3 separate regions of the Homo sapiens genome follow, and all the other regions are linked to region 3. Evidence: promoter capture Hi-C in 16 types of primary human blood cells and fetal thymus (Javierre and others, 2016). All regions are on one chromosome and are shown on one strand. Each heading gives the region's core, a stretch centred on a gene start or on the middle of the fragment in contact. The rest is flanking DNA. Distances are from core to core; before and after follow the strand shown. Region 1 overlaps TBK1 (TANK binding kinase 1). Region 2 overlaps XPOT (exportin for tRNA). Region 3 holds the start of GNS (glucosamine (N-acetyl)-6-sulfatase).

What was found. The method cuts DNA at HindIII sites, captures the fragments that hold promoters and counts their contacts. A CHiCAGO score of 5 or more calls a contact.
Region 1: a contact is called between a fragment that was not itself captured here and the fragment with the promoter of GNS in region 3, in 2 of 17 cell types (total CD8 T cells and non-activated CD4 T cells). The highest score is 5.9, in total CD8 T cells.
Region 2: a contact is called between a fragment that was not itself captured here and the fragment with the promoter of GNS in region 3, in 3 of 17 cell types (naive CD4 T cells, non-activated CD4 T cells and total CD8 T cells). The highest score is 8.3, in naive CD4 T cells.

The regions. Positions count from the first base shown.
Region 1 is chr12:64,484,210-64,486,909 of GRCh38, forward strand. TBK1 (TANK binding kinase 1) reads left to right here. Exons shown (of 21, transcript NM_013254.4): 9 at 94-290; 10 at 1,246-1,304; 11 at 1,717-1,808. Among named protein-coding and RNA genes, the nearest start is that of TBK1, 33 kb to the left of the region's middle. The HindIII fragment of the contact is 768 bases long and covers 867-1,634 here.
Region 2 is chr12:64,422,835-64,425,534 of GRCh38, forward strand. It overlaps XPOT (exportin for tRNA), which reads left to right. Exons shown (of 25, transcript NM_007235.6): 10 at 171-209; 11 at 348-410; 12 at 1,765-1,889; 13 at 2,204-2,348; 14 at 2,504-2,623. Among named protein-coding and RNA genes, the nearest start is that of XPOT, 20 kb to the left of the region's middle. The HindIII fragment of the contact is 328 bases long and covers 1,177-1,504 here.
Region 3 is chr12:64,758,091-64,760,790 of GRCh38, forward strand. It overlaps GNS (glucosamine (N-acetyl)-6-sulfatase), which reads right to left and starts at 1,316. Exons shown (of 14, transcript NM_002076.4): 1 at 995-1,316. The coding sequence starts at 1,186. It also overlaps a transcript of TBC1D30 not described here. RefSeq lists an enhancer at 1-742. The HindIII fragment of the contact is 13,978 bases long and covers 1-2,700 here.

The DNA of each region.
Region 1 (2,700 bases), core at 1-2,500, 270 kb before region 3:
GAATTAGAAATGGATGTTGTTGCACTCATTTAAAATATTTTGCCTCTCACTTTATCCCCAGTTATAGTGTCCTTTTGAATTTTTCTCACACAGTGCTACTATATTTCATGAACTGGTATATAAACAAACCAAAATTATTTCTTCAAATCAAGAACTTATCTACGAAGGGCGACGCTTAGTCTTAGAACCTGGAAGGCTGGCACAACATTTCCCTAAAACTACTGAGGAAAACCCTATATTTGTAGTAAGCCGGGAACCTCTGAATACCATAGGATTAATATATGAAAAAAGTAAGTTGGGATTTTTCTTGTCGTTCTTACTAGCCATTAGAAAAATACAGCCAGCCTGGGCAACATAGTGAGACCTTGTCTCTACAAAAAAATAAAACAAAAATTAGTGGGGCATGGTGGCTTGCACCTGTAGTCCCAGCTGCATGGGAGGCTGAGGTAGGAGGATCACTTGAGCCCAAGAGGCAGAGGTTGCAGTAAGCCGAGATTGCACCACTGCACTCCAGCCTGGGAGACAGTGTGGGACCCTGTCTCAAAAACAAAAAAATCCACAAAGTCTGTCATTGTAGAAATGATTGTCATCCTTATAAAGCTGATGATAATATTAGTGTAGAGCTTTCATAAATATTAAAATTTTATAAATTACTATAGTTGAAAGAGAGTAATTGTAAAATTGAAAAAGCCTTGTAGACATGATTTGACTTCAAATATTTTGTTTCCTAAAACGATAAAATCGTTTGTCATACGTTTCACTGTAACTCTCTTTAAAAAGTGTTTTGCTAACACTCAAAATTACCTTTTATATCATAAATTTCAGCAAATATTTTTTGTGTGCAGTATGTATAGAACATTGTGCCAAGCTTTAGAGTCTAAGAAAAATTAGATCTGCATTTTTAGAATCTTTTAAATTACTCATTCTACTGGTAGAAAAAAAAATGGATCACCCAGAATTTTACAGTTCTATTTGAAGGTTGGGATTTGATGTAGATTTAAAGAGAAGCATTGGACTCATTGTGTTGGTGTATATTTAAGGAAAAAATGAAACTCCTTAGAAATATTTGAGGTAATTTGTTAGAGAATGAGCATTATTGTTTGAAGTGGTGTTTTTTTAATCACGAAAACTACATTACAGATTTTGCCACTAATGTTTAATTTAGACATTGTGTTTGCTCTATAAAGGATAAAGTGATTTTTTCAAAAAGTTTTCTTTCTCATTTTATTTTACTTCATATTTCAGTTTCCCTCCCTAAAGTACATCCACGTTATGATTTAGACGGGGATGCTAGCATGGCTAAGGTTAGTATTTAATTTAATTACTATGTAAACATCTGAATTTAATGTATCCTATCAATAGTGGAAGCAATAACATGTATTGTGTCTTCATGTATGTCTATATGACTTAGGAAATTATTCACTTAAATTGATACCCTTTCCAAGTGATTTTGTGGTCTTTCTTTTTTACTTTTTATCCTTTCTTGAATTCATTATATAAGAAAATTCTCTCCATTGAGATAGTGCATGTTTAGATAATGTTAAGGATAACATATTTATTATATTTATATCTATTTTTAACTCTTAGAAATTGGTGGTTTATTGTGTTTTTAATTAACCTGATAAAAATGTGTAAGCTTGAATAATTTTGTGTAAAAGTTTTTCTTACCCTATACCACAATTAGCACCAAATATTGACATTTTATTTCTTTATTAGGCAATAACAGGGGTTGTGTGTTATGCCTGCAGAATTGCCAGTACCTTACTGCTTTATCAGGAATTAATGCGAAAGGGGATACGATGGCTGATGTAAGTAATAGATTGAAATTTTGAAATTGATTTTCATGTAGACCTTGCCCCATCATTGATATTTTCTCTCTTCAAACTAGTTAGGTTAGGTGCTTGATTTTTATTATAATACATTTGTTTCACATTTAGTTTATAAAACATTTAGCAGCTCATTTTTCATGAGTCCTACAATGACCTTGTGAGACAGAACAAATAGTATCTGAATTTTAAAACTTACACCACGCTATAGGATGTGACGGCAAATGCATTTCTTTTCCTAGGACCTTGAGTAGTTGGTTGTCATTTAACTATGTTAGAAGTCTTTGGCTTGTTAGAATTCAGTACAATCTGTACTTTCTAGCATTTAAGTCCTCAAAGTCTTCCTTAATTTCCTACCATTTTCCCAAATGAAGTACACAGTCCTTTTTTATCACACCGTATTTTTTTTTTTTCTTTTTGAGACAGGGTCTCGCTGTCACCCAGGCTGGAGTGCAGTGGCACAATCACAGATCACTGCAGCCTGAAACTCCTGGCCTCAAGTGATCCTACCACCTCACCTTCCCAAGTACCTGGGACTATAGGCATGCCCCACCACACCCAGCTAATTTTTTTTTTTTTAGTGATGGGGGGTCTAGTTATGTTGCCCAGGCTGGTCTCAAACTCTTGGGCTCAGGCAATCAGCCCGCCTCAGCTGGGATTATAGGCATGAGCCACACCCAGCCTTCACAACATTGAGATATAATTCATATACTATATAACTCATGCATTTAAGCATACAGTTTAATGGTTTTTATTATGTTCAGAGTTGTGCAGCCATCATCACTAATTTTAGAACATTTTCATCACCCCAGAAAGTATCTCTGCATCCATTAGTATTCACTCTCCATCTCCGCCTAAACAGCCCTGCCCTAGG
Region 2 (2,700 bases), core at 91-2,590, 340 kb before region 3:
GGGGGTTGCAGTGAGCCATGACTGCGCCACTGCACTCCAGCCTGGGCAACAGAGCAAGACCTTGTCTCAAAAAAAAAAAAAAAAACCAGGTCTTAATTGATTCGAAAAATGTTCTGATATGCAGGTATAACTTTAGAAAACCTAATAAGTTATTGCTTCCTTTTTAACAGCTTACAGTGCTCTCGGATCAGCAAAAAGCTAATGTAGAGGTAATTGACTTTATGCTTCTTTTAAACCAATGATAGATTTTTAGTCTGTAATTTGCCTTGAAATGTAGCTTAATTTCAAATTATATCAAATTAGAAGGAGACTGACAAAAACTCTTTTATTCTCAATTTTATTCTTAGGCAATCATGTTGGCCGTTATGAAAAAATTGACTTACGATGAAGAATATAACTTTGAAAATGAGGTAAGAATTTTTTTTTGTTGAGGAGAAAGGAGTTTTAATTTTATTATTATATCAAATTAATATTTCAAGTTCTTATTGTTTCGGGGCCCTTTAAAACATGAAGTTCTTGAAAAATTAGTCTGTTTATATTGACACCAACCTTGGGTGAAATTAATAGAAGCCTCTTAATCCTTCCTTTTTGATATTTTATCCATTAACAACCACCCCCCCTCCTTTTTTTTTGCTTTGAGACAGAGTCTCACTCTGTCACCCAGGCTGGAGTGCAGTGGTGCCATCTCAGCTCACTGCATCCTCTGCCTCCTGGGTTCAAGTGATTCTTGTGCCTCAGCCACCTTAGTAGCTGGGATTACAGGCATGTGCCACCATGCCCGGCTAATTCTTGTATTTTTAGTAGAGACGGGGTTTCGCCGTGTTGGCCAAGTTGGTCTTGAACTCCTGGCCTCAAGTGATCTGCCTGCCTCAGCCTCCCAAAGTGTTGGGATTATAGGTGTGAGCCACTGCACCTGTCCCATTAACAGCCCTTTTACAAATACTGTGTAGCACTGAACATAGTAAAATATTGATAATATTATTGGTGATCATATTTCACTTTATATTTTGTAAGAATGATGAACTCCAGTCACAAGACTGTATTGGCAGAGTGGAAATGAGGCGCTCTAGACTTGTTCCAGTTAAAGGTCTTTTTCAAGATTGTGAGTGGGTCAGCTTCCCATCAAACAAGGGCCATTGGTGCTTTCTAGGTATTCAGTCATGGTATTTGCTGCTAAGCTTTGTTCTAAAGTGTTGTATTCCCCCACCTCAGACATTCAAAAACTTAGGGTTGTAAAAGGATAATAGTGGTGCTGACCAACACACTGCGCACCTGGGATGTGCCAGGCTCCTAAGATTGAATATCTCCAGTTATACCATATTATTACCACTTTTTACAGTGGATATTGACTTACAAGAATAAATAAGGTGCAAAGAATTCAAAGCCCATTCTAGTGCTAGAGTATTGTCTTTAACCTTCTTAGACTATTTCTAGCTCTAGGCTTTTGAGGTCTACGGCTTTGTGCAGAAATACTTATTTGTGAGCTGGAGGGAAGAAGTTATTAAGCTTAATAAGTTTTTCTATATAAATAGTGACAAAAATAAAAGTACGAAATATGTAAATGCGGAAAAATACAGGAGAACTGGATATTTACATGAATTTTAAGGTCTTTTAAGTTTTTAATTTTTATTATTATACTTTAAGTTTTGGGGTACATGTGCAGAACGTGCAGGTTTGTTACATAGGTATACATGTAGCCATGGTGGTTTGCTGCGCCGATCAACCCATAAGTTTTTTGAATGAGGATTTTAACCTGTATCATAGGGTGAAGATGAAGCCATGTTTGTAGAATATAGAAAACAACTGAAGTTACTGTTGGACAGGCTTGCTCAAGTTTCACCAGAGTTACTACTGGCCTCTGTTCGCAGAGTTTTTAGTTCTACACTGCAGTAAGTTTGTCATTACTTTTGTAACAAGCCTACTTCTTTCTTTTGCTCTTTGATATGGGTCAAAATAAATGATTCATATGACTTATTAATCCATGTTACTTATTGAGATCTTATGTGTATCTCTGGAAACAATGCACTTGTCTTCTTGATTTATCTTGATCCTTTCTACCTTTGTGATGTATTGCCTGGGAAAGTTAACAGTTGCTATGACTTTTTAATAATTAAAAAGGCTTTTGTTGGTGTCTTACCCTGTGCATAATTTGCTGTATGAAAAATTTATCTTTAAATCTCACTGACATATTATACCTTGGTAGGAATTGGCAGACTACACGGTTTATGGAAGTTGAAGTAGCAATAAGATTGCTGTATATGTTGGCAGAAGCTCTTCCAGTATCTCATGGTGCTCACTTCTCAGGTGATGTTTCAAAAGCTAGTGCTTTGCAGGATATGATGCGAACTGTAAGTATACTGGAGATAATTTTGACCATAAATTTCTGTTTTCAGTATAAGCTAATGGGAGTTCCTTAATTGTTAGAGCTTAGTATATGTTAATACCGGGGCATTTTGATGTTGCAATAAATAAGAAGAGGTTTCCTAACTTTTTCCTGATCTAGCTGGTAACATCAGGAGTCAGTTCCTATCAGCATACATCTGTGACATTGGAGTTCTTCGAAACTGTTGTTAGATATGAAAAGTTTTTCACAGTTGAACCTCAGCACATTCCATGTGTACTAGTAAGTACTCTGGATTTTTGTTACTTTCCATGGGTTTCAGCTAATGACTTGATAGTGTAGTATTGTATTTTTCTGTC
Region 3 (2,700 bases), core at 66-2,565:
CACACATTCCATAATTCTGCAATACACAAGCAAAATTTACTCTGGAAAAAAAATGAAGTCTTGTGACAACACCCATTAGATAGAAAATGAAACACTGACAGTCTCTAATGCAACAGTCAGGTGTTCAATCACACTAATTGAATTTTCTTGATTCTTGTGAGGCAACACACACCCTCAATAGTTCGACGGTCGGCCTACCAGATTAGTTCACTTCAGGCCTTTTTTTTTTTTTTTTTTTTTTTTTTTTTTTGGAGACGGAGTCTCGCTCTGTCGCCAGGCTGGAATGCAGTGGCGCGATCTCGGCTCACTGCAACTGCTGCCTCCCGGGTTCAAGCGATTCTCCTTCCTCAGCCTCCCAAGTAGCTGGGACTACAGCTGCGCGCCACCACGCCCAGCTAGAATTATTGTATTTCTAGTAGAGACGGGGTTTCACCATGTTGGCCAGGATGGTCTCGATCTCTTGACCTTCTGATCCGCCCGCCTCGGCCTCCCAAAGTGCTGGGATTACATGAGTGACACACCGCGCCCGGCCCAGGCTTATTTTTATTGACATCAGATACAGACATTGTATACAGGCACAAACGTGGAGGTGGTCTAGGTCCCTCATAAAGGGGACTGGACTTGTCTGTGATCCTCTAATCCAAAAGAAAAACAATCAGGCCTTGAGTGCTCTTAGACAGCACCTGATCCTCATTGGTTCAACCCATCCTCCACTGGTCTCCACATGTTTATCTTGAGATATTAACGTAAACTCCACAGCAGTACGGTCCAGACTAGAAGCTCTGTGTGCTGTACGCATGTGCCTCAATCCAGAAAGGAAAAGAGTATTGCAGTCCCTTACACCGGCATAAAGGGCCTCAGGTGGGAAAACCAAACCTACCCAAGGATAAGACAGCCAGTTCGGGGAGGAGGGTGGTGGGGACCGGGAAAGAGAGCAACAAACCGGGTAGTCAGCCCAAGAGATAGAGGGGCGGGGCAGAAACAGAAGAGTTACCATGCCGCCGAGCACTTCGTCCTGGTCGTCCGTGAGGAGCAGCACCACGTTGGGCCTCCGGGTTCCCGCAGCCACCCCGAAGACCCCCAGGCAGCCGCCCAGCACCAGCAGTAGCAGCGCTGGGCTGCAGGAGGGCAGGTGGCGGGGGCTGCCCCGCCGGAGCCGACCTGGGGCTAGAGGCAGGAGCCGCATAGCGGACAGGCTCCGGGGTGACCCCGGGACGGGACGGGACGGAGGGACGCACAGGTAGCTGAAGGGCGAGAGGCCGACCAGCCGAAGGAATAAAAAGCCGTGCCTTGAAGGCCGGTGGCTGGAGTCAGACGTTTTCTCCCTAGGCGCGATCACGTGAGCCAGGGACAGGGGGCGGAGCACGCTGCGCGGTCACGTGACGGCCGGCGTGGGCGGGGCTGCGGACTGGCGCAGCCTGGAGGGAGGCATCAGGCAGTGGCGGAAAAGGGGCGGAGAACCGGAGAAAAGGGCGGAGAACCGGAGAAAAGGGCGGAGAACCGGAGAAAAGGGCGGAGAACCGGGAAAAGGGCGGAGAACCGGGAAAAGGTCAAGACCTGTACGTACCTCTCGCGCAGGCTCGGGTTGCGTTCTGGTAGGACGTACGTGTTTCTGAGCGCTTGGTGGAAAGATTTAAATGGGGGGAAGAGAAGATGAAAAGCAGGAAAGAGTTGGCAAATACTAACCAACCGATAAAGGAAGAGAAAGGAGGACTGTACATAACAGAAATTATCATCAGCTGGTGAGGAAAGTGGACTCTACCATATTTAATCCCCAAGTCGACGGGCACTTATTCAAGGCCCGGATGTTTAATCGTTTTTAATTTTCTCTACAACTTGTGAGATAAATCTTAACATTCTCATTTGGCTCAGACATTAAATTCGGAACTGGTTAGCTCTCTTAACTCCAAAGCCTAATTATGTTCTTCTTTCCTCAGCAGACATCGTAGTTTCAAACAATTTAGGGATGTCCTGACAGCTTTATCCTAATGGTTATCCTAATGGTCCTTGGTGACTTTTTAAACACCCTCTTGGAACATGTTGGAGGATGTGCAGATCGAACAAAAATCTTGAAACGTGGTCATCCAACTGCATTATTAAGTAATCTTTAGCGGGGAATAGCCCTTGAAACTAGCTCCAGATATTTCTGTGGTCGCTCTGGAATAATTAGACTTTGCCCCTCTCCTCTCACCGCCCACCGTGGGCGCGGTGGCTCACGCTTGTAATCCCAGCACTTTGGGAGGCGGGTGGATCACCTGAGGTCAGGAGTTTTAGACCAGCCTGGCCAACGTGGGGAAACCCCGTCTCTACTAAAATACAAAAATTAGCTGGGCGTGGTGGCAGGCGCCTGTAATCCCAGCTACTCGGGAGGCTGAGGCATGAGAATCGCTTGAACCCGGGAGGCGGAGCTTGCAGTGAGCCACTGCACTCTGGCCTCAGGGACAGAGCGAGACTCTTGTCTCAAAACAAACAAACAAACAAAAAATCACAGAGATATTCCTGGCAAGGTGAACTGTCAAGTCACATCCCCAGACCGATATAACAAGGTATACCTCCTTGCTGGTAAAAGTATTTTCTCTGAGTTGAACTGTTTGCCAAGAAGAGTCTCTTAAAACTCGTGAAAACTATTCCAGAACTTAAAGTATTAAAAAAAAAAACTCGTGAAAACACTATACTATAAGGTAAAAATAATGATGGAAA